Regions from separate parts of the Homo sapiens genome. Here region 1 is linked to region 2. The links are contacts of gene promoters, found by promoter capture Hi-C in blood cells and fetal thymus (Javierre and others, 2016). All regions are on one chromosome and are shown on one strand. The core of a region is centred on a gene start or on the middle of the fragment in contact, and the rest is flanking DNA. Distances in the headings are between cores, read along the strand shown. Region 1 has its middle 4.4 kb from the start of CWF19L2. Region 2 holds the start of C11orf65 (chromosome 11 open reading frame 65).

Evidence for each region. The method cuts DNA at HindIII sites, captures the fragments that hold promoters and counts their contacts. A CHiCAGO score of 5 or more calls a contact.
Region 1: a contact is called between a fragment that was not itself captured here and the fragment with the promoter of C11orf65 in region 2, in 2 of 17 cell types (non-activated CD4 T cells and total CD8 T cells). The highest score is 7.7, in non-activated CD4 T cells.

Annotation. Positions count from the first base shown.
Region 1 is chr11:107,459,450-107,464,932 of GRCh38, forward strand. No RefSeq gene overlaps it. Among named protein-coding and RNA genes, the nearest start is that of CWF19L2, 4.4 kb to the left of the region's middle. The HindIII fragment of the contact is 4,148 bases long and covers 1-3,435 here.
Region 2 is chr11:108,464,801-108,470,295 of GRCh38, forward strand. C11orf65 (chromosome 11 open reading frame 65) reads right to left here and starts at 2,729. Exons shown (of 9, transcript NM_152587.5): 1 at 2,671-2,729. RefSeq lists a silencer at 622-916, enhancers at 1,948-2,800, 2,741-2,885 and a cis regulatory region at 2,813. The HindIII fragment of the contact is 4,195 bases long and covers 1,893-5,495 here.

The DNA of each region.
Region 1 (5,483 bases), core at 112-2,611, 1.0 Mb before region 2:
AAAGAAGAAAACATCATAAAAAATCATTTCTCAATTAATTTGTAAATACCATGCAATACAAATAAAACTGCCCAAAAAAAAGTTGGGGTTAGAGAGGGGAACTAGATATGTTAAAATAGAAAAAAGAAAAGAAAAGAAAAGAAAGAAAAAGCAGGTTATTTTGGCTAGGTTTGCATTTGGCCACACCTAATGCGAATCCAGTCACATGGCTTAATCAAATAAAGGATAACGTAACAAGGAGCCTAAAAGTAACTGGTCCAGGCTTGGTGCAATTGCTGAAGGAGCCAAATAGTTTATCCTTTTTCGCTTTGTTGCAGTCTGTGACTTTAGTATTTGTAGTCACAAGCAGGGTATCATATTCTTTCACATCTGTTCACGGCATCTGATAAACAAGAATAAAGAGAAAGGACAAAGGGTAAACGTTGTTAGCTAAGCTGGCCTCATTTTTTATTAGAAAAATGATGGCTTTTCCTAAAGCCTAGTTCAGTTTCTTTCATTTAAATCCTATGATCCAGAAATAGGTCAGATGATCACAATTAACTACAAAAGTTTCATGAAGATTGCAGGATAGTTGTGTTATAGAATGTCACTCAACTTGGGTTTGTCGGAGGTTCTTTTGTGATTAAATTCAAATTTGGCCTCTTAAGCAGGACGATCACAGAAGTGAGGCGGTCTTACTGCATCCTGTTGGGTAGCGCATGATTTCCATTTGTTCCATTACAGGTGATGTTAATTCTGATCATTTAAATAAACTGGCATCTGCAGAGCTTCTCTGCTGTAAAGTACCTCTTTTCCTTCTATAATAAGTATTTTGTGAAGTGGTTCTTTGAAACTATGTAGATCATGTACCAAATTTTCAAGTTATTTATTTTTATATAATACAGATTCATAATTTCTCAGTGGATTCCTGTTTTTGTTCAGTGGGATAAAAATTCGTTATCAGTATTTATTTTGATCCTCAAATTGGTCCAGGTTAGGCCAGTGAGAGCCCTTTCAAGCTGGTTCCTGTGTCCTTTAGACATGTACCCACATTCTTTATATATATATATATATATATATATATATATATATATATATATATATATATATATATACTTTAAGTTCTGGGGTACATGTACAGAATGTGCAGGTTTGTTACATAGGTATACACGTGGTATGGAGGTATGCTGCACCCATCAACCCGTCATCTACATTAGGTATTTCTCCTAATGCTATCCCTCCCCCAGCCCCTCACCCCCCAACAGGCCCTGGTGTGTGATGTTCCCTCTCTGTGTCCATGTGTTCTCATTGTTCAACTCCCACTTATGAGTACATGCGGTGTTTGGTTTTCTGTTCTTGTGTTAGTTTGCTGAGAATGATGGTTTCCAGCTTCATCCATGTCCCTGCAAAGGACATAAACTCATCCTTTTTATGGCTGCATAGTATTCCATGGTGTATATGTAACACATTTTCTTAAACCAGTCTATCATTGATGGGCATTCGGGTTGGTTCCAAGTCTTTGCTATTGTGAACAGTGCAGAGATAAACGTACGTGTGCATGTCTTTATAGTAGAATGATTTATAATCCTTTGGGTATATACCCAGTAATGGGATTGCTGGGACAAATGTTATTTCTGGTTCTAGATCCTTGAGGAATCACCACACTGTCTTCCACAATGGTTGAACTAGTTTACACTCCCACCAACAGTGTAAAAGCATTCCTATTTCTCTACATCCTCTCCAGCATCTGTTGTCTCCTGGCTTTTTAATGATCGCCATTCTAATTGGCATGAGATGGTATCTCATTGTGGTTTGATTGGCATTTCTCTAATGACCAGTGAAGATGAGCTTTTTTTCATATGTTTATTGGCTGCATAAATGTCTTCTTTTGAAAAGTGTCTGTTCATACCCTTAGCCCACTTTCTGATGGGGTTGTTTTTTTCTTGTAAATTTGTTGAAGTTCTTTGTAGATTCTGGATATTAGCCCTTTGTCAGATGAACAGATTGCAAAAATTTTCTCCCATTCTGTAGGTTGCCTGTTCACTGATGATAGTTTCTTTTGCTGTGCATAAGCTCTTTAGTTTAATTAGATCCCATTTGCCAATTTCGGCTTTTGTTGCCATTGCTTTTGGTGTTTTAGTCATGAAGTGTTTGCCCAAGCCTATGTCCTGAATGGTATTGCCTAGGTTTTCTTCTAGGGTTTTTATGGTTTTAGGTCTTACATTTAAGTCTTTAATCCATCTTGAGTTAATTTTTGTATAAGGTGTAAGGAAGGGGTCCAGTTTCAGTGTTCTGCATATGCCTAGCCAGTTTTCCCAACACCATTTATTAAATAGGGAATCCTTTCTCCATTTCTTGATTTTGTCAGGTTTGTCAAAGATCAGATGGTTGTGGATGTGTGGTGTTATTTCTGAGGCCTCTGTTCTGTTCCATTGGTCTATATATCTGTTTTGGTACTAGCACCATGTTGTTTTGGTTACTGTAGCCTTGTAGTATAGTTTGAAGTCAGGTAATGTGATGCCTCCAGCTTTGTTCTTTTTGCTTAGGATTGTCTTGGCTATGCAGGCTCTTTTTTTGTTCCATATGAAATTTAAAGTAGTTTTTTCTAATTCTGTGAAGAAAGTCAATGGTAACTTGATGGGGATAGCATTGCACCTATAAATTACTTTGGACAGTATGGTCATTTTTACAGTATTGATTCTTCCTATCCATGAGCATGGAATGTTTTTCCATTTGTTTGTGTCCTCTCTTATTTCCTTGAGCAGTGGTTTGTAGTTCTCCTTGAAGAGTTCCTTCACATCTCTTATAAGTTGTATTCCTAGGTATTTTATTCTCTTTGTAGCAATTGTGAATGGGAGTTCACTCATGATTTGGCTCTCTGTTTGTCTGTTATTGGTGTATAGGAATGCTTGTGATTTTTGCACATTGATTTTGTATCCTGAGACTTTGCTGAAGTTGCTTATCAGCTTAAGGAGATTTTGGGCTGAGACGGTGGGGTTTTCTAAATATACAATCATGTCATCTGCTAACAGAGACAATTTGACTTCCTCTCTTGCTATTAGAATACCCTTTATTTCTTTCTCTTGCCTGATTACCCTGGTCAGAACTTCCAATATTCAATGTTGAATAGGAGTGGTGAGAGAGGGCATCCCTGTCTTGTGCCGGTTTTCAAAGGGAATGCCTCCAGTTTTTGCCCATTCAGTATGATATTTGCTGTGGGTTTGTCATAAATAGCTCTTATTATTTTGAGATACATTCGATCAATACCTAGTTTATTAAAGAGTTTTTAGCATGAAGGGGTGTTTAATTTTATTGAAGGCCTTTTCTGCATCTATTGAGATGATCATGTGGTTTTTGTCATTGGATCTTTTTAAGTGATGGTTTACATTTATTGATTTGCATATGTTGAACCAGCCTTGCATCCCAGGGATGAAGCCGACTTGATCATGGTGGATAAGCTTTTTGATGTGCTGCTGGATTCGGCTTGCCAGTATTTTATTGAGGATTTTCACATCAATGTCCATCAGGGATACTGGCCTGAAATTTTTTGTTGTTGTTGTTGTGTCTCTGCCAGGTTTTGGTATCAGGATGATGCTGACCTCACAAAATGAGTTAGGGAGGAGTCCCTCTTTTTCTATTGATTGAAATAGTTTCAGAAGGAATGGGACCAGCTCCTCTTTGTACCTCTGGTAGAATTCGGCTGTGTATCCTTCTGGTCCTGGACTTTTTTTTGTTGGTAGGCTATTAATTACTACCTCAATTTTAGAACTTGTTATTGATCTATTCAGGGATTCGACTTCTTCCTGCTTTAGAATTGAGAGGGTATATGTGTCCAGAAATTTATCCATTTCTTCTAGATTTTCTAGTTTATTTGCATAAAGGTGTTTATAGTATTCTCTGATGGTAGTTTGTATTTCTGTGGGATCAGTGTTGATATCCCCTTTATCAATTTTATTGCACCTATTTGATTCTTCTCTGTTTTCTTCTTTATAGTCTGGCTAGTGGTCTATTTTGTTGATCTTTAAAAAAAACAGCTCCTGGATTCATTGATTTTTTGAAGGGTTTTTCATGTCTCTATCTCCTTCAGTTCTGCTCTGATCTTAGTTATTTCTTGTCTTCTGCTAGCTTTTGAATTTGTTTGCGCTTGCTTCTCTAGTTCTTTTAATTGTGATGTTAGGGGGTCAATTTTAGATCTTTCCTACTTTCTCTTGTAGTCATTTAGTGCTATAAATTTCCCTCAAAGCACTGCTTTAGCTGTGTCCCAGAGATTCTGATACGTTGTGTGTTTGTTCTCATTGGCTTCAAAGAACTTATTTATTTCTGCCTAATTTCATTATTTACCCAGTAGTCATTTAAGAGCAGGTTGTTCAGTTTCCATGTAGTTGTGCAGTTTTGATTGAGTTTCTTCATCCAGAGTTCTAATTTGATTGCACTGTGGTCTGAGAGACTGTTATGATTTCCATTCTTTTGCATTTGCTGAGTAGTGTTTTACTTCCAATAATGTGGTCAATTTTAGAATAAGTGTGATGTGGTACTGAGAAGAATGTACATTCTGTTGATTTGGGGTGGAGAGTTCTGTAGATGTCTATTAGATCTGCTTGGTCCATAGCTGAGTTCAAGTCCTGGATATCCTTGTTAATTTTCTGTCTTGTTGATCTGTCTAAAATTGACAGTAGGGAGTTAAATTATCCCACTATTATTGTGTGGGAGTCTAAGTTTCTTTGTAGGTCTTCAAGAACTTGCTTTATGAATCTGGGTGCTCCTGTATTGGGTGTATATATATTTAGGATAGTTAGCTCTTCTTGTTGCATTGATCCCTTTACCATTATGTAATGCCCTTCTTTGTCTCTTTTGATCTTTGTTAGTTTAAAGACTGTTTTATCAGAGACTAGGATTGCAACCCCTGCTTTTTTTTTACTTTACATTTGCTTGGTAAATATTCCTTCATCCCTTTATTTGGAGCCTATGTGTGTCTTTGCACATGAGATGGGTCTCCTGAATACAGCACACCGATGGGCCTTGACTCTTTATCCAATTTGCCAGTCTGTATCTTTTAGTTGGGACATTTAGCCTGTTTACTTTTAAGGTTAATATTGTTATATATGAATTTCACCCTGTCATTATGATGCTAGCTGGTTATTTTGCCCATTAGTTAATGCAGTTTCTTCATAGTGTCAATGGTCTTTACAATTTGGTATGTCTTTGCAGTGGCTGGTACCAGTTGTTTCTTTCCATGTTTAGTGCTTCCTTTAGGAGCTCTTGTAAGGCAGGCCTGGTGGCGATAAAATCGCTCAGCATTTGCTTGTCTGTAAAGGATTTTATTTCTCCTTCACTTATGAAGCTTAGTTTGGCTGGATATGAAATATCAGGTTGAAAATTCTTTTCTTTAAGAATGTTGAATATTGGCCCCCACTCTCTTCTGGCTTGTAGGGTTTCTGCAGAGAGATCTGCTGTTAGTCTGATGGGCTTCCCTTTGTGGGTAACCCGACCTTTCTCTCTGGCTG
Region 2 (5,495 bases), core at 1,479-3,978:
TGCTGTTGGTATTTTTCCACAATGTGCATTTAGTTCAGATATATACAATATAACTTCATTAAAAAAAACAGCGTGCATATTGAAACCTAACACTGCCAAACTGTCCTCAAAAATGGTGTCTAATTTATGCCCATAAACATTCTATGGGAATGCTTGACTCTAAATTTTAGAAAAGTAAAAAACTAAACGTAAATTAGATATTAGGATTAAAATGGGTCTTTTAATACTTTCCAAGAACTAAACTGTGAGATTTTTTACCTGTTATCAATGTAGTGTGTGTGTTATTTAACGTGACAGCATTAGCATTAATTCATCACAATTTCATCATTTTCCCAAATACATTCCCAATTTTGTAGGTGGAAATTTAACACTGGATCTTAAAAATCCCTTGAAAATCCTGAACCAGTTTATTGAATACTTTGATCTAAATAATTTTACACGGGCTTTCTGCATACACCTGCTTCCTGCTTCTCTAGTGACATAGGCTAAAGGGTGTTTAGAAGCTGCCAAAAAAGTATGTCATAAATGCCACCATTATATGTTTATGAATACACAAAATATAGAGGAAATATATTCCAGCATTCAAAATTATCTGATTCAGAAATAAACAATGAAGTTCCACAATTTCAAGAAAGAACATATTCAATTGTGTCAAATATTGTTGCAAGGGCAAGTAAATACAGAGGAAAAAAAGGGAGATTTGGCCAGATAAAGTCACTAGTGACTGTACAGGCACTGCTTCAGTGGAGTAAGCAGGGAAGGAAGTTTGGGTTGGGTTGAGGAAGTGGGAAAGTTGAGACAGTAAGTACAGTAGTAATTCTTTGGAGTGCTGTAAGGGAGCAGAAAAATGGGGTGTAGCTAGAGAGTGAGAATGGATTAAAGGTTTTTTTTTAAAAAAAAAAGGCTGGGCGCGGTGGCTCACGCCTGTAATCCCAGCACTTTGGGAGGCCAAGGTGGGCGGATCATCTGAGGTTGGGAGTTTGAGACCAGCCTGACCAAAATGGAGAAATCCCGTCTCTACTAAAAATACAAAATTAGCTGGGTGTGGTGGCGCATGCCTGTAATCCCAGCTACTCAGGAAGGCTGAGGCAGGAGAATTGCTTGAACCTGGCAGGCGGAGGTTGCGGTGAGTCGAGATCATGCCACTACTCCAGCCTGGGCAACAAGAGTGAAACTCGGTCTAAAAAAAAAAAAAAACAACAACAACAACAAAAAACGACAGATTCTAAAGCATGTTAAAATGTACCATCCAGTAGTGAGGGAGAAATTAAAGTGACGGAGAACTTAAAGGGGCAAAAAAAGGGATAAGTTAAATGGTAAAACCTTTGAGTAGGTGTAAGAGGACACCATCTGGAGCAGAAAGGAGGGTGGGACCGTTGCTGGCTTTAGATAAGAAATAAGATCGACTTTATATGGTTATTATGATGCTCCAGATAAAATAACCATTGTGAAAACCCTTCATAAGTTTTAAGATACTAAAATGTACTACCAGGCCGGGTCTGGTGGCTCAGGCCTGTAATCCTAACATTTTGGGAGGCCAAGGTGGGCAGATCACCTTAAGTCAGGGGTTTGAGACCAGCCTGGCCAATATGGTGAAACCCTGTCTCTAGTAAAAATACAAAAATAAACTGGGTGTGGTGGCGCACACTTGCAGTCACAGCTACTCGGAAGGCTGAGGCAGGAGAATAACTTGAACCCAGGAGGCAGAGGTTGCAGTGAACTGAGATCACGCCACTGCACTCAGCCTGGGCAACACAGCGAGATGCCTTCTCAAAAACAAACAACAACAAAAAACTAACCAAATAAAATGTACTATCAAACAACTGCTCAGGCAATGAAGTATTTTACTACACCCATGTGCCACTTGTAGATTCACAGATAAGTATTTTCCAAGCTTATTATATCCCTAATCAATAAAATTTTTTATCATAATAGATGATGTTTTCACTTATTTATTTTTACGCTTCGTGGAAAAAAGCCCACAAGACGTGTTTGGATTCTTGGTTTCACTTTTAAAGCAGCAAACAATCTTTACTTTGCTTGAATTGGAACCTGTATACGTCCTATTTTGTTTCCTCTACTAAATTTATTGAATAAACAAATGATTCGCGTGGCCTTTATAAGTTTCGTAATTTCGCTTTTCCTTTTTACCTGTGGTCCTTGATGCTAGGGGCAGGAGAAGAAAAACTAACCTATTCTTTAAAAACGCGTTTCCCTTTTCCATCTCTAAAAAAACTGAAAAGACGTAAAACAAATGGGAGGGGGCAAAGGAAAGAAATGAGGAAAAATCTAAGGAAGATTAATGTGTACTTCCCGGTCAGCGGGAAGGTGGACGGAGTAATATCTTTGCGGAGGATTGGGGTGTGGGGATCTGTGAAGGCGCAGTATGAGCAGTAAGGACTTGTCAACCAGCCCGACGCAACTTCACCGAGGGCGAGGAAAGGAGCTCTGAGGAAGGGGTTACTCCCGGGCAGGACTGTAAACCAGCTGGAGGCCTCGCTGGGAGGGCTTTAGAGGAATGAAACGTCCTTAAGAGGGGCGGATGGGGAATGGTATCAAGGGTATGGGTTCTTTAGGGCCTTGAAACAACGAAGGCTCAAACCAGTGGGCACAAAGGCTACCGGAACAGTAGTACGCGCTGAGAGAAGGGACACTATTCCCTTCACCTACCAATCGCTGCTGGCCCGGGCGCCGCTGGACTCCTAGGTAACGTCGCAGGCGGAAATGACGTAACTCAATCCGTTCTGTCCCGCCCCATTGCCCTCCTAGCCCCGCCTTCTAGGCCCCGCCTTTCCTCTATTCGCGCTCTGACAAAGTGCAGGGGATATAGACCAACCGCTTGTGAAGGCTGCTGGTTCTGTTAGAAGCCCGCTTTCGATTGTCAGTGGCTTTGAGGCAAAGGATTTTGGAAGGGAAAGCAAAGTGATTGTCTACGAAGTTGGGCTTAGTATATAATAAAGCCCAGTCATTTCAACCAAGAACCTTAAAGATGTTGAGAAATATAATGAAATATTTTCTATTAATTTTTGTAAAATTTTTCTTGAGATAGGGTCTCAATCTGTGGCCGAGGCTGGAGTGCAGTGGCGCGATCTCGGCTCACTGCAGCCTGGAACTCCCCTGGCTCAGGTGATTCTCCCACGTCAGCCTCCCGAGTAGCTGGGACCGTAGGAGTGCACCACCACGCCAGGCTCATTTTTCTATTTTTATTAATAGTGGCGACAGGGTTTCTCCATGTTGTCCAGGCTGGTCTTGAACTCCTGGGCTCCAGCGATCCCCCCCTACCCCATCTCCCGCCTTGGCCTCCCAAAGTGCTAGGATTACAGGCGTGAACCACCGCGCCCGGCCTATTTAATTAGTTTAATTTATTCATTTGAAAATGAGACAACTGATCCTTCTAGCTATTTGACAGGTCTTGCTCAAGGTCAAAGAATACGTGACTTGCAGTCCAATGTTATTTCTAAATGTAAGCTCTTCAGCTGGTTAAGCTAAACTGCTTTAAGTGAAAACAGACGACCTCTTGAATGAGTTTTCAAATGACCTTAAATAATGCAAGCACTGCTTATCTAAAGCAAGTCTGACTTGCTTGAATTCTGAGTCTGACACTTTGGCAGTGCTTTAGTTGGTCACAGATTATTGCAATGTGAAAAAATCTTGTTCAGAACTGCCCAGTTTTGCTATGTTCGTCCTATGTTCATGCATGGAATATAATTTGTTTGTAAGGAAGATAAACTTTTAAGGAGGGAAAAGAAACACCTGAAGAGAAATTTCCCTGTATAATGAAAACATTTGTACAGAAAAAATTCTTGGTAGGTTAATTCAGTGACTCACTGAACTTCCAGAGTTCTTTAAAATCATCACAATCATAAGCAAGGGGTGAGCTTCAGTTCCTCTTTATGTAGTTGCCTTGATGCATTAATACACAGTAGTTATGAACAATAAACTGTAAAAATATAGTCATGGAAACATTATGTATATCTTAATTTTCAATCTAATAGAAACTGGGTTAAAAAATTTAAATTCAGGCCAGGTGTGGTGGCTCACACCTGTAATCCCAGCACTTTGGGAGGCTGAGGTGGGCGGATCACTTGAGGTCAGGAGTTCAAGACCAGCCTGGACAACATGGTGAAACCCCCTCTCTACTAAAAATACAAAAATTAGCCCAGCCTCCCAAGTAGCTGGGACTACAGGCGCCCTCCATGATACCCGGCTAATTTTTTGTATGTTTAGTAGAGACGGGGTTTTACTGTGTTAGCCAGGATGGTCTCAATCTCCTGGTGGCGCGCTGCCTGTAGTCCCAGCTACTCAGGAAGCTGAGGCAGGAGAATTGATAGAACCCGGGAGGCAGAGGTTGGTTGCAGTGAGCCGAGATAGCGCCATTGCACTTCAGCCTGGCAACACAGCAAGATTCCCTCTAAAAAAAAAAAAAAATTAAATTCAAAATTACACAACAATGTGAATGTACTTAAGTCCACTGAATTGTACAATTGAAACTAGTTAGAAGGATAAATTTATGTATATTTTACCACAATTTAAAAATTTTAAATTAAAAAACTGCAAAACTAAGCCAGTAAATAATTTAGAACAAAAATTCCTAAATGTACTGGATGAAATATAAAAATAAATTTAAGGTATACTGCTGTTTAGATATTATTTTTATTAGGTTGGTGCAAAAGTAATTGCGGTTTTTGTCATTAAACATACATAATTAAACATAATGGCAAAAACCGCGATTACTTTTGCATCAACCTAATAAACTGCATATTTTTAATGTAGTGCTTATCTGAATTATTTTAAAAAGTATTTACAATAGTTACTGTTGAGTACTTATGTTACCTCTAACCTGATCCACAAGAATTCAGCAATTTCTACATAACAGGCTAGAACATTTTCTTATTGCTCTAATACATGTAAAAATTGTTCAGTTCTTTAAAAGTATCTTTCTTTAAAGTAGCCACAAGGGATCATTAAGACTAGAAACTGTCAAGTGTTAGGTTTATTCATTTATATGTACCTGCTTAAATCTAGGAACAGTTTACTAAGACGCAGAACTCAGAAGAACTTCTGGGTGGTTTCACAGAAATCGTTCCTTCCTTCCTTCTCTCTTCCCCTCTCCACTTATTCTCTTCCTCTTCTTTTTCTCTCTTCTTTGTCTTACTACTATTATACAATATATCATATTATATTTATGAAATTAATATTCTTGCTTTCCACTTACAAGGCAAAGATTTTTCTTTATAAACCATGTGAAGACAAGAGATAAGGAAACAAAAATGAATTGGCATGAGGAAAGGGGAAATATCTGTAGTGCCGAGGGAGAAGAGTCACAATTACATGCCATTTTGCCTAGGGAGAAGAGTCACAATTATATGCCATTTCTTTCCTCTCTGCTTTGGCACTGGAGCAAACTCCAACAATAGGGGACTCCAAGGCTGTCTCCCGGATGTGAGCATGGAATCTTTTATAATTGTGGAAAATATGTCATGTAGTAGAAAACC